Linked DNA regions of Homo sapiens: regions 1, 2 and 4 are each linked to region 3. The links are contacts of gene promoters, found by promoter capture Hi-C in blood cells and fetal thymus (Javierre and others, 2016). All regions are on one chromosome and are shown on one strand. Each heading gives the region's core, a stretch centred on a gene start or on the middle of the fragment in contact. The rest is flanking DNA. Distances are from core to core; before and after follow the strand shown. Region 1 has its middle 38 kb from the start of ELFN1. Region 2 overlaps LOC105375123 (a long non-coding RNA gene). Region 3 holds the start of CHST12 (carbohydrate sulfotransferase 12). Region 4 holds the start of TMEM184A (transmembrane protein 184A).

The links. The method cuts DNA at HindIII sites, captures the fragments that hold promoters and counts their contacts. A CHiCAGO score of 5 or more calls a contact.
Region 1: a fragment that was not itself captured here is called in contact with the fragment with the promoter of CHST12 in region 3 in 5 of 17 cell types (naive B cells, total CD4 T cells, M1 macrophages and 2 more); the score reaches 6.1 in naive B cells.
Region 2: a contact is called between a fragment that was not itself captured here and the fragment with the promoter of CHST12 in region 3, in 11 of 17 cell types (total CD8 T cells, M0 macrophages, non-activated CD4 T cells and 8 more). The highest score is 8.2, in total CD8 T cells.
Region 4: a contact is called between the fragment with the promoter of TMEM184A here and the fragment with the promoter of CHST12 in region 3, in 2 of 17 cell types (monocytes and non-activated CD4 T cells). The highest score is 5.7, in monocytes.

Annotation. Positions count from the first base shown.
Region 1 is chr7:1,630,711-1,634,704 of GRCh38, reverse strand. No RefSeq gene overlaps it. Among named protein-coding and RNA genes, the nearest start is that of ELFN1, 38 kb to the left of the region's middle. The HindIII fragment of the contact is 5,736 bases long and covers 1-3,994 here.
Region 2 is chr7:1,592,899-1,597,034 of GRCh38, reverse strand. It overlaps LOC105375123 (a long non-coding RNA gene), which reads right to left. Exons shown (of 8, transcript XR_001745048.2): 1 at 4,104-4,136; 2 at 3,723-3,932; 3 at 131-274. Among named protein-coding and RNA genes, the nearest start is that of PSMG3-AS1, 25 kb to the right of the region's middle. RefSeq lists an enhancer at 3,246-3,295. The HindIII fragment of the contact is 5,076 bases long and covers 1-3,819 here.
Region 3 is chr7:2,401,633-2,405,356 of GRCh38, reverse strand. CHST12 (carbohydrate sulfotransferase 12) reads right to left here and starts at 1,746. Exons shown (of 2, transcript NM_018641.5): 1 at 1,684-1,746. RefSeq lists silencers at 1,450-1,619, 1,710-2,079 and an enhancer at 2,170-2,269. The HindIII fragment of the contact is 31,732 bases long and covers 1-3,724 here.
Region 4 is chr7:1,554,023-1,558,277 of GRCh38, reverse strand. TMEM184A (transmembrane protein 184A) reads left to right here and starts at 2,073. Exons shown (of 9, transcript NM_001097620.2): 1 at 2,073-2,164; 2 at 2,794-3,012. The coding sequence starts at 2,794. RefSeq lists silencers at 1,798-1,887, 1,928-1,997, 3,365-3,547 and enhancers at 1,655-2,454, 2,591-2,885, 2,455-3,255. The HindIII fragment of the contact is 30,451 bases long and covers 1-4,255 here.

The sequences.
Region 1 (3,994 bases), core at 1,013-3,512, 770 kb after region 3:
CACCTGCCAGCCATGGGATGCACACTCTTGAAAGTGGACTCCCAGCCCCACATCCATCCCTGTGCTCCCATGACCTGACCCACAATGGTGTTCAGAGAAGATCAGTCATGACAGAGCCTGAGAGAGGAGTGAGTCAAGGGGGCGTCACTCACTCAGCTGAAGCACACAGGGAAGACATAGAGGGGCAGGAATCTAGGGTGCTCCGGAGAGAGGGACAGCGACAGAGTTGGGAAGGAGGGACTTCTACAAGCTCCTGCAGAGCCTTGAGCACCTGCAGAAGGTACCCGGGGCAGCTGACCCCAACCCATTCTTCCCAAATCCTGCCTTGGCCACACCTACCCAGCAGCCCCACTACAAGGCTAGCCTGGAGGGAGACACGGGGATGGAGAGGGAGATCCGGGAGTTGGGCAGAGAGACAATGAGGAGAGACACATACAGAGCTATGAGAGTGGTTTCAGACCAAGCAGGCCACAGTTGCAGGGGAAGGTGGGGACAGAAGGGCCTCTGGGTTCTGCTCTCTGACACCCTGCACGGTTGGGGGTTACCGCCTGCCTAGATCATTGCAGGAATGAGGGGAGAGCCTGAGCACCCACCCAGGCACCTGTGCCACTGTCAGTGAAAGGTGGCTCCCCCAGGAGAAGCCCAGGTTTGGGAGGGCTTGTTTTCTTGTCCAGAAAATGCTACAGCACCAGGCAGCATTAGGGGATGCATGGTGAGACCCCAGACCCCAGCCCCTCTCTCTGCATGAATGTCAGCACCCCCAAGTCCCCCACCAGGGGCTGCATGTCAGGGAACTCAGGGCCTCCCAGCCAGCTTCAGAGCGCAGTGACAAGGACTCACCTGTGGCCTCCCAGGGCAACGGGGCTGTCTGTTCTCCCCACCACAGTGACCTTCATGGGAAAGGGCTGTCCTGAGTCAGTGTGGTGGAGGGTACCCAAAAACCCCACAGAAGGAAGATTGCCGCAGAGGAGCAGGGCTTAAGGGCCATGTGGAAGCTGAGCAGTGAGTTTGCAGAACCAAGTCCCTTCTGCAGGAACTCTCTGCTTCCCCAGGAATCACCCTTGTCGCCAGCCCACTCAGGGTCACCCACCCCTTCCAGCTGTCTCAGCCTCAGGGCCAGCACTCACTCTGTCCTGATTCCTCCGCCCTCCCCCTCTCCCCCATCCGCCTGCCTGTGCCTCCACATGGGGCCCAGGTAAGGCTCCCACAGGTTCTGTGGCCAGTCTGGCCCAGCTATCCAGGAACCCTGCCCTCCGTGTCCACTAACACCCCTTGGGAACTCTTTGTGCTAACTTCGAGACCTCCTGCTTGCTGGAGCCCGGCCCACCTCTTAGGGACCACCAGGACGTGAACTGCCCCCTGCCCCAACAGGCTTGCCGGAGCCATGGCTGGGGCTCCTCTCCCCTGGGGGACACCCCTGTGCTGGTGTGAGGATTTCTCCAGACTTCTAAGGAGTGTATCAAGCACAGGTCTACGTTGACATCCCCCCCCCGCTCCCCTGGGTCTCCCAGCAGCCACCCCCATGTGGCTTCACCCAGGCAGTGGCCACGTGAGGGACTGGGGCACCCTTTCCCTGCCCCCGCCCCATGGTCCAACCCTTGCCTTCTCTCAGACAGGAAAGAGGCTCCCCACAGCCTCCCCCGCTCTACGGCTTAAGCCAGTAAAGTCCATGTTCTCACTTAAAACCTTTTCCTTTCTCAAAAAGCCCTGCTCTTGCAAAAGAAATCCTCTGTGCTTTAGAATAGTGCCACTGCTGCTGGTCTTTAAAAATTCATCCTGAAAGTCCATTGATTTCTTTGTGCTCAGCTCTGTCCACCTCCCCACTGAGGCAGAAGCCACAGAGCAGAAGAACAGAGAGAAGTGCGGAGGTGAAAACCTCCACCGGGGCCTAGCCAGTGCCGTCTCACCTGGCCCTGCACTGCCAGGGAGTCAAGGACTGCCCAGGGTCCCCACGGTGGGGGGAGGCAGAAGAGGCAAGGGGTCAATGCCCTCCTTGCAGGGTCCTGCCTCTCCCGACCCTGGAAGGCCATCCGTGGATGTCAGCTTCACTGCTCGGCAGCCCTACTGATATTCAGGCCTGGCTGGGGACACAGGTGTGGATTGTAAGCAGCCTTGGTGTGTACAGGTGAGGTGGGGGTGCTTACAGGTGAGGTTAGGGTGTGCACAGGGTAGGTGGGGTATGCCCAGATGAGGTAGGGGTACGCACAGGTAAGGTGGAGGTACTTACAGGTGAGGTAAGAGTGTGAGGCAAGGGTGTGCCCAGGTGAGATGAGGGTGTGCACAGGTGAAGTTGCCCACAAGTGAGATGCCCAGGTAAGGGAGGATGTGCACAGGTGAGGATGAACTATATGCCCAGGTGAGGTAGAGTGTGCCCAGATGAGATGGGGGTGTGCACAGGTGCTATAGAATGTACACAGGTGGCCGGGCGCAGTGGCTCATGCCTGTAATCCCAGCACTTTGGGAGGCCAAGGTGGGTGGACCATGAGGACAGGAGTTCAAGACCAGCCTGGCCAAGGTGGTGAAACCCTGTCTCTACTAAAAATACAAAAAAAAATTAACCAGATGTGGTGGCGTGCACCTGTGATCCCAGCTACTTGGGAGGCTGAGGCAGGAGAATCACTTGAACCTGGGAGGCAGAGGTTGCAGTGAGCCGAGATCATGCCACTACACTCCAGCCTGGGTGACAGACCGAGACTTTTTGTCTCAAAAAAAAAAAAAAGAATGTGCACATGTGAGGCAGAGTGTGCACAGGTCAGGTGGGGGACATATGGGCAGGGATCCTAGGTCTGATGATGATGTCAGCTCAAAGACCATGTCTGTGGCTTGCAGCTTCAGCGGTGACATCATGGACCTGGACACTTCCCTGGGGGAAGACAAGCCTGAGGCTTCCCTGAGGAGGCCCCTGCCCTGCCTTTAGACTGGCTCTCAGCCCTCTGTGCCCAACAACTACTTCTTCAGTGTACTGTGGATTCCGTGGCTGCAGAGGTCATCAGGTGGCTCCCACTGGAACGGGACAGTAAGGGACACCCTCTGGATGCCCAGTTAAGCCACCTGCAACCAATAGGGGCCATTTCTGGGACGTTTGCTATGCTTGCCCCTATGATGGGATCTCAGTTCCTGTGGCCTTGGTTCAAATAGGGGCAAGGGAAACGGTGGTGAAATCTCGGTCTGTGCCCCACGTCAGTGGACATCAGGTCTTCTCTCTGACATGGCCCAGCTCCTCACCCTTCTTATGGAAGGTTGTGCCTGCATAGAAGTCAAAGAATGCCAGAGTGTGAAGGGCCCTGGGAAATGGGTTCATTCGACTCTTTCATTTAAAGATAAGGCAACTTAGGTCTTGGAAGGCACATCTGTGGCCCAGTGTCCAAAACAGTTGTTGATCAGAAATTGGGATGAGTATGTGGAAGAAGATAGAAGGAGGTATGGGTGAATGATGGATGGATGAATGAATGGGTGGATGAGTAGGTGAATGGATGAATGGGTGGGTGGATGAGTAGGTGGATGGATGAATGGGTGAGTGGATGAGTAGGTGGATGGATGAATGGGTGGGTGGATGAGTGAATGATGGATGGAGGAATGGGTGGGTGAATGGGTAAATGGATAGATGAATAGGTGGGTAGATGGGTGGATGATGGATGGATGAATGGGTGGGTGGATGATGGATGGATGGATGAACGGGTGGGTGGATGATGGATGGATGGATGAACGGGTGGGTGGATGATGGATGGATGGATGAATGGGTGGGTGAATGGGTGGATGATGGATAGATGAATGGGTGGGTGGATGGGATAAATGGATGGATGGTGGATGGTTAAATGGACAGAGTGTAGAGGGATGGATGGGTAGATGGTGGATGAATGGATGGAGAGATGGATGAGTGTATGGATAGACGGATGAATGGATAGACAGGTGGATGGATGGAAGGGTGGATGTGTGGATGAGTAGATGGGTGGATGGATAGATGGATGGGTGGGTAGACAAGTAGATGAATGGA
Region 2 (4,136 bases), core at 32-2,531, 810 kb after region 3:
ATGCTTTTCCCTCGACCTCCACCTGCCTGCCTTCTGCTCGGCACTCAAGCCTCAACCGAAACATCACCTCCTCAGATGCTCCTCCTCGAACCACCCGCCCAGGCACGATTGCGCCCCTCCACGTTGGTACCGTCGTGGCGCTGATTGCCGGAAATGGGCTCACGCATTGACTGGTGCGCTCCTCTTCCCATCTGTCCACACCCCCGGATGCGGCCATCAGCTGTCTTGGCCCCCGAGGTGACCCAGCGTGGACACGGCACCTGGCACAGGGTACCTGGTTGGTAAACGAGCATAGAGTCAGTGACTCAAGCAGAAAGACCACGGGGAGAATAATTTGCAGGCCTGGGGGAAGAAAAAGCAGCGTGGACCCTGGGAACCACGTGTTTCGCCTGCGTACACTGTTGCCATTCTCTGCAATGGCAGGAGAGAGGCTATTGGGTTTTAAATCTCCAGGAAGCTGATAAATGCATTTGACTCCCAGCGCCTCATAGGTGGAGTACACCCCCACCCACACACAGCCATTAGAGCCCTGGGGATAGGGCACGGAGCCTGGAACACGTCGGACCCCACTAACGCCAGGCCATCACTCCATCTCCCTAAATATCTGATTTCTGTCATGCGGGGCTGTAAACTGTCCCCACGCACACGGCACCCAAGATTGTATCAGGGGCTGAGTGGCCTCTGCTCCTCCAGGAGCTTGTAGATAAACACGGCTGTTTCTCTCTTGGCTGACACGGGAGGGGAATGTCGCAGCCATGAGGCATTGAGAGGTTAAAATGTTTAATTAATTTTTCCTGACCGGTCTTTGCAGGGCCCCTTTGCAGACGAAAGGCACTGTGGCCCCCAAGGTGTGGCTTCGCTAATGGAGTCAGAATCTGTACAATGGGTTAAAAATGCACAAATAAATCCCCAGCTCCTAAGGGTTGGCCTGGAAAACTAGAGAGATGGCTCCCTGTTGAGTGAGGAGGTGAAATTGAGGAATTGGAATATGATTTGGGGAGAGGGGTTTATCTTGATCTCTGCACCCTCCCTCCCCCGACTTGTTTTCCGGGCTCTATCCTGGAAGGAGCCGGGGGTGTGGGCAGCGGCGGGTGAGGGAAGGGACGAGGGGATCGTGAGGTGAGGGGTGCTCACGATCCCACCCCACCCCATGCCCGTGCCACAGCCAGTCCCAGGACTCTGGTGCACTGGAGGTGCTTGTGAAACAGCTCCAGAATGAACGTTCAGGTCCCTATCTCACCCTCGCCCCTGCCCCACCCTCTCCAGACTTGACATGGGCAGGACTGGCCTCTTCTCCATCCCATGGCCAGCTTGGCCCCTGCTGCAGCCCCAGCCCAAACATCTCTTCATCAGAAACCACCCAGGCCCCCGGATTCCAATTCATCCCAGCTGGTCTCTCCAGATTCTCAGCATTCATGTACACAGAAATACAGGCATGTTCGTTTCTTGTTTTCTTTCTCTTCTACTAAACAGGGAGCTCCGTGGAGGCAGTGGCCTTTCTAGTCCTGTTCACTGCCGTATCTCCAGAGCTGACAGAGCTCCTACAGTCCTAGACAAGCAAGGACTGCTTGGATGAGTGGGAGGGTGGATGGCTGGGAGGATGGATGGAGGGAGGATGGATGTGAGGGTGAATGGATGGGAGGATGGATAGACGGATGGATGGGAGGGTGGATGGGTGGGAGAAGGGATGGGTGGATGGATGGATGGATAGGAGGATGGATGGATAGAAGGGAGGGTGGATAGACGGGAGGATAAATGGATGGATGGATGGATGGATGCATGGATGCATGGATGGATGAATGCATGAGTGGATGGGAGGGATGGATGGGAGGATGAATAGATAGATGGATGGGAGGGTGGATGGATGGGAGGATGGATAGATGGATGGACGGGAAGGTGGATGGATAGGAGGATGGATAGATGGATGGATGGGAAAGTGGATGGATAGGAGGATGGATGGAGGGATGGACAGGAGGATGGATGGAAGGATGGATGGGAGGATGGATAGATGGATGAACGGGAGGGTGGATGGATGGGAGGATGGATGGATGGATGGATGGATGGATGGATGGACGGACGGGAGGATGGATAGATGGATGGACGGGAGGGTGGATGGATGGCAAGATGGATAGATGGATCGATGGGAGGATGGATGGGTGGGAGGGTGGATGGATGGGAGAATGGATGGATGGATGGGAGGATGGATGGGTGGGAGGGTGGATGGATGGGAGAATGGATGGATGGATGGGAGGATGGATGGATAGAAGGGAGGGTGGATAGATAGGAGGATGGATGGATGGATGGATGGATGGATGCATGGATGGATGGGAGGGTGGATGTAGGGAGGATGGATGGATGGATGGATGGAAGAGTGGATGGATGGGAGAATGGATGGATGAATGGGAGGGCGAATGGATGGCAGGGTGGAAGGATGGAAGGATGGATGGATGGATGGATGGATGGATGGATGCATGGATGGATGCATGGATGGATGGGAGGGTGGATGGATGGGAGGGTGGATGGATGGGAGGGTGGATGGATAAATGGATGGATGGATAGATGCATGGATGGATGGATGGATGCATGCATGAATGGATGGGAGGGTGGATGGATGGGAGGGTGGATGGATAAATGGATGGATGGATAGATGCATGGATGGATGGATGCATGCATGGATGGATGGGAGGGTGGATGGATGGGAGGGCGGATGGGAGGATGGATAAATGGGAGAGTGGGTGGATAGGAGGGTGGACGAATGGGAGGATGGATGAATGGGAGGATGGAGGGATAGAAGGGACAGTGGATGGATGGATGCACGGATGGATGAATAGATAAATGGATGAATGGGAAGGTGGATGCATGGATGGATGGATGGATGGATGGATGGATGGATAGATGGGAGGGTGGATGGATAGGAGGATGGATGGAGGAGGGAGGGAGGGAGAGATGGAAAGAGGGAGGATAGATGGAGGGAGGGAGGCATAGAGGAGAGAGGGATGGAGGGAGGAGGGAAAGAAGAAGGAGGAGGGAGAAAAAAGGGGGGAAGAAGGGGGAAGAAAAGGGGCAGGAAGCAGGGAAGGAGGGAGGAAGGAGGGCAGACTAGCGCCCTTGGCCTGGGGCTGTGTCCCTCTGGGGTGGTGACCTTGGGACCATCTCGGAAAGGCAGAGAACCTGGGGCACTATCAGCAGAGGTGCTTCTGGGCTTGGGGGTCTCCTGCGGGGGCTCCAGTCCACCCTGCCTGGATAGCAGCTTCCCAAGGGCCCAAGGTGCCAGGGCTGGGCTCTGGCTTCTCTCCCCATGTTCAGAGGCCTCCTTCCTTCCCCTTGGCCAGCAGGGGGCTCACAAGGAGGTCCTGCAGGCGTCCTGCTAACTCCCTGCCCAGCCTCTGTGAGCACCGCCCTGAGGCAAGGTGGGTCTGGCTGCCCCGAGGCCTGGGGGCCGCCCGGCCTGGTCACACACAGGCATCCTGCACTCAATCTGCCCCAAGCCTCCCTCCCCCCAGCCTTTGTCCCATGCCATGCCCCCTGCCAGGGATGCCCTCCCCAATGCTACTGTCCACTTGGACCCCCAGGGAGAGTCTCTCCTCTGTACCCACACCAAATCACAGGAATACAGCCTGATCTGGGACCGGGCATGTTCTAGCTTGTGTGATAGCTTCCTATTCACACCTTTTATCCTCCAAACCTAATTGAAATCCCAGAGACCCAGATTGTCATCTCACAGCCACCGTCGTCACCGTCCGGGTGCCCTGGGGCCCGTCGCCTTCTGAGCCTTGGTTTTCTGGGGTTACGATGGAGACTGCGGGGGTGTGCGAAGCTTCAGAGTACAGTAACCAGGTGTCACAGAGGTGCACGGAGCACGGGACATGCTGAAAGGGGCTGGTTGCCCTCTTCTTCCTGGGAAAGGGCTCTGAGCCTCAGATTCCAGACCCCTGGAAAGGACGGACAAAAAGGTGAGAGCACAGCTGCCTCGGTCTTGCTGTTTCCAGGTAAACAGTTCTATGGACTCGATGGAGGAGCCTGGCTCCCCCCTACCCATACATGGTCTCCGAAGATGTTCCCGGACAAGGCACTCCCCAGCCGCCCCCTCTCCACGCCCCCACCTGCTACGTCCTGTCCTCTGAACAACAGAAGCA
Region 3 (3,724 bases), core at 497-2,996:
TCTCTTGACTCATCCTCCTAAGTAGCTGGGACTTCAGGTGTGCACCACCACGCCCAGCTAAATTTTGTATTTTTAGTAGAGATGGGGTTTCACCATGTTGGCCAGGCTGGTCTCGGACTCCTGACCTCAGGTGATCCGCCCGCCTCTGCCTCCCAAAGTGCTGGGATTACAGTCACGAGCCACCTCGCCCGGCCTTCCAGTCTTAGCTTCCAACCCAATCCTCAAACCCCACTTCATCAAGAACACGGCGACCCACCATCTCCCCCAAACATCACTTTCACTTCCACATCTCTGCATGCCCTTTGCCTCCAAACGCCCCAATTCATAGGTCCTCTCCACTGTGGAAAATGTCGGAAAATGTCGCCACATTCTGTTAACGCCTGCACCACAGTCTCAACTCCACACAGTTGTAGCCAGGCTGGCCGTGAGCTCCCAGGGCAAGGCCCACGCTATTACCGGCATCTACCCCAGCTTAGCATCTTGCACTCGATTGGAGGTTTGATAATAAAGCTGGAGTCAGCTGAGTGACAGCAGACAGTTACTGCTGGCCCCAAAGCGTCAGCCCAAAGTCCCATAAACTCCTTTGCAGGGAAATCAAACATCTATGCCATTCCAGGCAGGTGCTCTTTCAGATCTCAAGCGTTGCACCTTCGTGTAGCAATCTCCTCATTACCCCTGTTTTCTCTCCATCCTCACTCAGACACCAGCCCTGACTCCCAACACCAGATGCTCACGGTGAGGGGCTAACCCGGGTCCCCGCGTGGGGGTAAGTGGGGGACCCGCTGAGCTGTCCCCAACCACCCACAGCCGGGAACAGCACCGTAGGGCCTGGTGTCCTGGAAGATGTACTGCGTCCAGCACCGCGCCTGCAACTCACATTCCTATTCACCCCGGGGCTTCCGAGTCCCCACAGCCCCGCTTATGAACTAAATAATTTAATAATGCTGGAAACACTATGGCTTGTTGTGCTGCCTGCCAGACGGAGCCTCTGCCCGAGCCAAGGCTTTGCCGGCGGTGTCTCGGTGGCCGGGAGCCCGCAGAGGAGGTCTAAGTCCCACTGTTCCCGGACTAAATGCACGGTTTCCTCTCCCAGAGGGGCAGGGCTGCGGCTTCTGGAGTGAGAGGTCATTTAAGGGATACCCTGAGCGACCTGCCGGTGCTGCTGGCGTCTGCAGGCTCCAGGGCTGCGGTCGGCGGGGCCGGGGAGCCCCGTTCAGGTGACAGCAGGCACACGGGGGCCCTCGGGAGCTGGGGATCCTGGAACTCCAAGCCCGGGAATTGGTCCTACCCCTGCCGGGCGGCAGAGGCTGATGCCGGGCAGGGGGACTCCTGGGGGCCGGCGGGGCCGCTGCAGCCTCTGCTGTCGCTGAATCAGAACCACAGATTTCTCGTCCAGACCCCGAGGAGCCGCAGAACGCGCTGATCAGGGCCCCAGGGCTGGGTCCCCCTGGCCGAGGACGACGAGCGGGGCTCAGAGAGGGCGCGCGCAGGGCCAAGGTCACACTGCGCGCCGGCGCGGGAACTCGAACCCAGGCCCAAGCCGCGCCCGCCAGGCCAGGTTAAGGAGAGCCGACCCGCGCCCCTCAGCGCGGCCCGGGACCCCCGCCCGGGCCCTGGGAGCCCAGCACTGGCCGAGAGAGAGGGAGACCGCGCCCCGAGCCCGCCGCCCGCCGCGCCCCTCACCTCGCGACCCTCACCTCGCGCCCCTCACCTCGCGCCCGCAGCCGCCGCCGCCGCCCCGCGACTAGCGGACCCCCCAGAGGCAGCCCTCGCCGGCCCCGCCCCCGGCGCAGGAGCCCCTCCTACCGGTCGTCTTCTCGCGAGACGTCGCGGCCGCCGGAGGGGCCACGGAGGCCGAGGGGCGCCCGCCCTCAGCGCGCCTGCGCCCGGCCAGCCCGCCCGCCCCCGCCCTCGCGAGCCAGTGCCATGTGGCGCCGTATTTACGGCCAGAGATCGACTCCGCCCACCGGCCGCCACGAGCCACGCCCCTTTCTCAGCAGCCAATCCGCGGCGTTGACTCCGCCCCGGCGGACCGGGCGCGCGGCGGCTCGGGGACGCGCAGCTGTCTCGCCGTTCGACCCGGGAGCTCCACGTTGCAGCCAAACACGATCCCGTTAACCAACCTTTATGCAGTGCCTGTTGTCTATCCGACCCTTTCTCGAGCATCGGCTCATTGGCAAAGGATCGTGATGCTCACCGGCTGGGGCTTGAGACTCGCTGTGTGACCTTGGGCAAGTGACTTAACCTCTCTGAGGTTGTCGCCAATCCGTAAAATATAATAGGTTAGTGACCCTACCTTTCAGGGAGTATGTGAGACAAACGAGATGACACGGGTAAAGAGCTTAGCAAGATGCCTAATGCATAGTGAGCATGCAGTAATTGTTCTTGGCATCAATGTAGTTTTGTGTGTTTGTTTGTTTATTTTTTTAGAGACAGGATCTCACCGTGTCGTCCAGGATGGGGTGCAGCGGTGCAGTCACAGCTCACTGCAGCCTCGACCTCCTGGGTTCAAGCCATCCTCCCACCTCAGCCTCCCAAGTAGATGGAACTACAGACAGGTGCCACCACACCCGGCTAATTTTTAATTTTTAATAGAAACGGGGGTCTCACTATGTTGCCCAGGGTGGTCTTGAACCCCTAGACTCAAGCAATCCTCCTGCCTCAGCCTCCCAGAGCTCTGGGATTACAGGCGTGAGCCACCGCGCCAGGCCCAGTCATTTTTTTTTTAAATTATGGTAAAATATATAGAACATAAAATTTACCATCTTAACCTTTGTTGTTGTTGTTGTTGTTGTTGTTGTCGTTGTTGTTGTTGTTGAGACAGAGTCTCGCTCTGTCGCCCAGGCTGGAATACAGTGGCCCGATCTCGGCTCACTGCAAGCTCCGCCTCCCGGGTTCACGCCATTCTCCTGCCTCAGCCTCCCGGGTAGCTGGGACTTACAGGCGCCCGCCACCACGCCCGGCTAATTTTTTGTATTTTTAGTAGAGACGGGGTTTCACCGTGTTAGCCAGGATGGTCTCGAACTCCTGACCTCGTGATCCGCCCGCCTCGGCCTCCCAAAGTGCTGGGATTACAGGCGTGAGCCGCCGCGCCCGGCCCATCTTAACCATTTTTAAGCACTCCCTGCAGTGGCATTAAGCACTTTCACATCCCCACCATCCACCCCAAGAACTTTTTCAATCCGTGATATTTTTAGTTGGCCCCCTCCGATGGACTCCCGAGGCAGCCTTCCAACCAAGGTCATCTCTTCACTCTTCCACTCCCTGCAGCCAGTCCCAAAGGAGTTCCGAACCCACCGGGCCCTGGAAATGTGGAAGTGAGGGAGACGGGCAAGGCCCCTGCCCTCCTGTATTCTAGTGGGGGGGAAAAGCAACAAACAACCACCACAAAATATATGTGTATATTATATACACACTCACAGTAGATAATATGTTTATACGTATGTGTAATGCATACATGTTACCTATGTGTATGTATGTAGTATATATGTTTATATATTGTACACATACATATAGACCTGTATTATGCATGTATAATATGTCTATGTTGTATACATACATATATGCAATTGCACGTATGTAAATAAGGTGACAGCCTCTGGCAATGTCACCCTGTGATGCCTGTCTCAGCTTAGAAATTTCTCACTATCAGCCGTGTGCAGTGGCTCACACCTGTAATCCCAGCACTGTGGGAGGCCGAAGTGGGTGGATCACTTGAGGTCAG
Region 4 (4,255 bases), core at 824-3,323, 850 kb after region 3:
CCAAAGGGAGACCTTAGCCCACAGGGTCACCGCCTCAGCAGGACAGCCCCCACCCCGCAAGCCCTGTGCCCCGAGCATGGACAGGGCACAGCTCTAGGCTCTGGCAGCTCCTGCAGAGGGAGGACCAGCAGCAAACACAGACAGGTGGACAGGGAGTCACACACACAGTGAGGAGGGTGATGGGACAGCGGGGATGGTCTCTCCAGAGGTGACGCCTGAGGCTGCAGGACAGAGTCACCCGGGAGCAGGGTCGGTTGGTCCAGAAGGTCCCTGCCTGGGGAGCAGGCAGGCTCCAGGAGGGCCCAGCCAGGGTGTGCATGCTGTGGCTCTGGGCCCGGGCCCGGGTGGGCGCTGATGGGGAGGTTAGGCAAGGCGGGCCTGAGAGCTGGGCACGACTTCCTGAGCTTGTTCCCCACCTGGGAGCCTCCCTGGAGGGACAGTGTCAGTGGAGGAGTTGGGAAAAGCAGGCAGGGTGTCCCAGGGAAGGATGGGCCTCAGCCCGGGCCCCTCACGGACCCCTCAAGGATGCTGGACGCGTTGATGCGCCTCTCGTTCCCATCTCTAAAAGGGGAACAGGCCGGACGTGGTGGCTCAAACCTGTAATCCCAGCACTTTGGGAGGCTGAGGCGGGCAGATCACCTGAGGTCAGGAGTTCAAGCCCAGCCTGGCCAACGTGGTGAAACCCCGTCTTTACTAAAAATACAAAAATTAGCTAGGTGTGGTGGTGGGCGCCTGTAATCCCAGCTACTCGGGAGGCTGAGGCAGGAGAATCACTTGAACCCAGGAGGCGGAGGTTGCAGTGAGCCGAGATCGCGCCATTGTACTCCAGCCTGGCGACAGAGCGAGGCTCCGTCTCAAAAAATAAATTAATTAAAAATAAAAGGGGAACAGTGGCTCCAGTCATTCCAGCCTCAACCCCTTGAGCCCTGTTGCTCAGGGCTGTGGGAGGGTAGGAGATATGAAGGACAAGGAGTGTGTGGATCCGTTGCGGGCATGGAGCGGGACTTGGTAATGGTGGCCCCAGCGGCATGAGCCCAAGCGTAACCAGAACAGGACAAGAGGTGGGCTGAGGGCCCACATCCCTCTCCCAGGAGCCGGGGTGAGTGAGTTTTTTCTCCACAGGGGCCTCTGCATGGGGGTGACAGGGACCCTCAGGGCCCCGCAACCCCTTGCCAGACCCCAAAGGGTCCAGGGACTGGGCTGTCACTCCCCCTCTCCTGCCTTGATCCACAAAAACCAGAAATATTTCCTTTTTTTTTTTTTTTTTTTTTTGGACACAGAGTCTCCCTCTGTCCCCAGGCTGGAGTGCAGTGGTGTGATCTCAGCTTACTGCAACCTCCGCCTTCTGAGTTCAAGCGATTCTCCTGTCTCAGCCTCTTGAGTATCTGGAATTACAGGTGCACGCTGCCACACCTAGCTAATTTTTGCGTATTTCGTAGAGACGGCGTTTCACCATGTTGGCCAGGCTGGTCTCGAACTCCTGACCTCAAGTGATCCACCCACCTTGGCCTCCCAAAGTGTGGGGATGACAGGCGTGAGCCACCACGCCCGGCCCAGAAAACAAATGTTTTCAACTCATCTCTTGGGGCGTGGATTTTTTTTTTAATTCAGATGAAATTCACATAACATCAATTTACCCAGGTTTAAGTGAACGATTCGGTGGCGGTAAGTATATCCACAGTGCTGTGTGCCTGCCGCCTCTACCTCATTTCAGGACTCCTGTCACCCCCCAGAGAAACCCTGTACCATTAGCTCTCCACCCCTCCTCCTGCAGCCCGGCCCTCCTTGGCCTGCCGCAGACCTCTCCCACGTGTCCCCACCAGGTGGCAGCTGCCTGGCCGTCTGGCATAGGCAGGTGAGGGCGCCAGGCGGCCAGCAGGTTCCTGGGAGCCAGCTGCCACCCAGCAAACAACCGGGAGGATAGGGTGTCAGCCGTGGGAGGGGACAGGAGGGGACGGGCCTGCAGCCTGGGGCCCAGGTGGGCCACTGGGGACGTGAGGCACTGGCCGCCCCGCCCCAGCCTGGCACAGCCCTTCAGATCCTGGCCTTGCCGCACCCACAGTGGGGCCTCCAGTTGGGGCCACGTGGCCATGAGAATGACCAGCTAGGCTTCCCTGGAGGCCAGGCCTCCCTGGACTGGGCCAGGTGCTTCCTGCCAGCAAAGGTAGAGCTGGGCCCTGTGACCGCAGACCAGAGGGAGAGGAGGAGGCTGGACTGGGCTGCGAGTGTGGGAGAGGGTGGACTCAGGGCCCCAGCAGGTTAGTGGGAGATGGAACAGGCACCCAGGGCTGCCAAGAACCCCAGCAAAGCCGGGCTCCCAGGTGGGTGGACAGGTCCCAGAGCCAGTGAGGGCCGGCTCCTCCCATGAGGGTGGCTGCACACCCCCTCCTGCCGGGGCAGGCAGTGCTGGTCTGCGCCCGCTCCCCAGCCCTCCCGGGCAGGCAGGGCGGCAGGGGTTCCCCCTCTTCTGCCCCACTGGAAGACGGTCTTTGTCCCCTAAGAAGCAGGCTCCCTGCAAGCCTGAGACTCGGAGTTGGAAGCTGGTTTTACAAGGGGGAATTGAGGTGGGACCCTCAGGTCGCAGGTGGTTGATGGGTGAGCTTCGATGGCTGAGCTCGGAGCAGGGAGGGAGCCGGGCCTGGCGCTGGTGTCCGTGTGGGGGGTGCGGCCTGGTGGGTGGCTCAGCCTCAGCTCCCGTCTCACTGTCTCCTCCCTCCCCCGCTGCTTCCTGCTGCCGGGAGCCAGTACCTTTGCCCTCACTCCTCCCGGTGTGTGTCCTCCCTCCCTCTGCAGATGAGTAATGTCTCAGGGATCCTGGAGACAGCCGGCGTCCCCCTGGTGTCAGCGAACTGGCCGCAGCCCAGCCCCCCACCGGCTGTGCCAGCTGGGCCGCAGATGGACCACATGGGGAACAGCTCCCAGGGGGCCCCCTGGCTCTTCCTCACCTCCGCACTGGCCCGAGGCGTCTCGGGGATCTTCGTGTGGACTGCCCTGGTGCTCACCTGCCACCAGGTAAGCCCTTCCGCCCCCGAGCCTCCTTCAGGACCTTGGTCTCCACAGGACGTGGCCGTGGCTCAGCCCGGTCCCCCTGGGTGCCGCTGCTATAGACGCTGTCAGAAGTGGGATCGGCCAGGGCACGGGGGAGGGGATGAGCTTCCCCAGGATGTGGCATGTGGGAGCTGGGCCTGAAAATGGGGAGATCTCTGCCAGGCTGAGGGCAGAGCGCCCACCGGGCACCCCTGGCTATTTCACAGGCTCGTCACTCGGCTCACTGAGGTCTGCAGTGTGGTCCCATTTCACAGACAAGAAGACTGAGTCTCAGAGAGACCAGAGGTCTTTCCCAGGCTCACATAGCTGGAAAGGGGAAGGGGCCTTCTCCTTCCAGAGGCGTGACACCCTGGAGAAGGCTGGTGGGAGGTTGGCAGGGGGTTGGACTTTGCTCTGTAGGGAGCTGGGGAGCAAAGGTCACAGCTTGTTAGAGGGACCGGGACTCCTGTGCAGGAGATGGGCGAGAAGCAACTTCCCCAAGCCCGAAGCCACACACAGCCCCCGACCCGGAGCAGTCCCCAGGTGGGAACAGAACAGCCCCCAGGTAGAGAAGCGGCCAGGCGCTGTGGCAAGGAAGGGCCAGGCAGGGGCAAGGAGGAAGTGGTGCCCGAGGGCAGGGGCTGGGCAGAGAGGGCAGGGAGTCAGGGACAGGACCCTCCTGAGAGACTCAGATACACAGAGAGGCCAGGGCGGTGTGCGCAGGGGTGGGGTGGGAGTGCGTGTGTAGGCCCGCGAGGGCCACACGGCTGCAGGGATTTGTCCAGAGCCCTTGACCCCAGTGCGGTGAGGTGGCTTTCAGGGGGTGCTGGGAGCCCAGGAAGGCTGTGGAGGGCTGGGCTGAGGGCAGAGCTGCTTCCCGGGTGCACGGGGCACTGGTGTAGGGAATGGATCTGTAGGTGAGCTGGGGCAGGGGGCCATCAGGAGACTGGCAGGCAGGGACACCGGTGGCCACAAGTCTCCGAGGGAGCATCTCAGTGACAGTTTATTAACTGCTTATTAGCCGGGCATGGGGGCCTGCACTGTTAGTCCCAGCTACTTGGGAGGCTGAGATGGGAGGATCGCTTGAGCCCAGTTCAAGGTTGCAGTGAGCTGTGAACAGATAACCAGAACCCACGGTAGACGTGTATGAGTGTGGCCTGGAGTGTGCAGAGCCGCGGAGGCAGTGCCGAGGCAGGCCCTTCCTGTAAGGCCATCAGAGAGGGCTTCC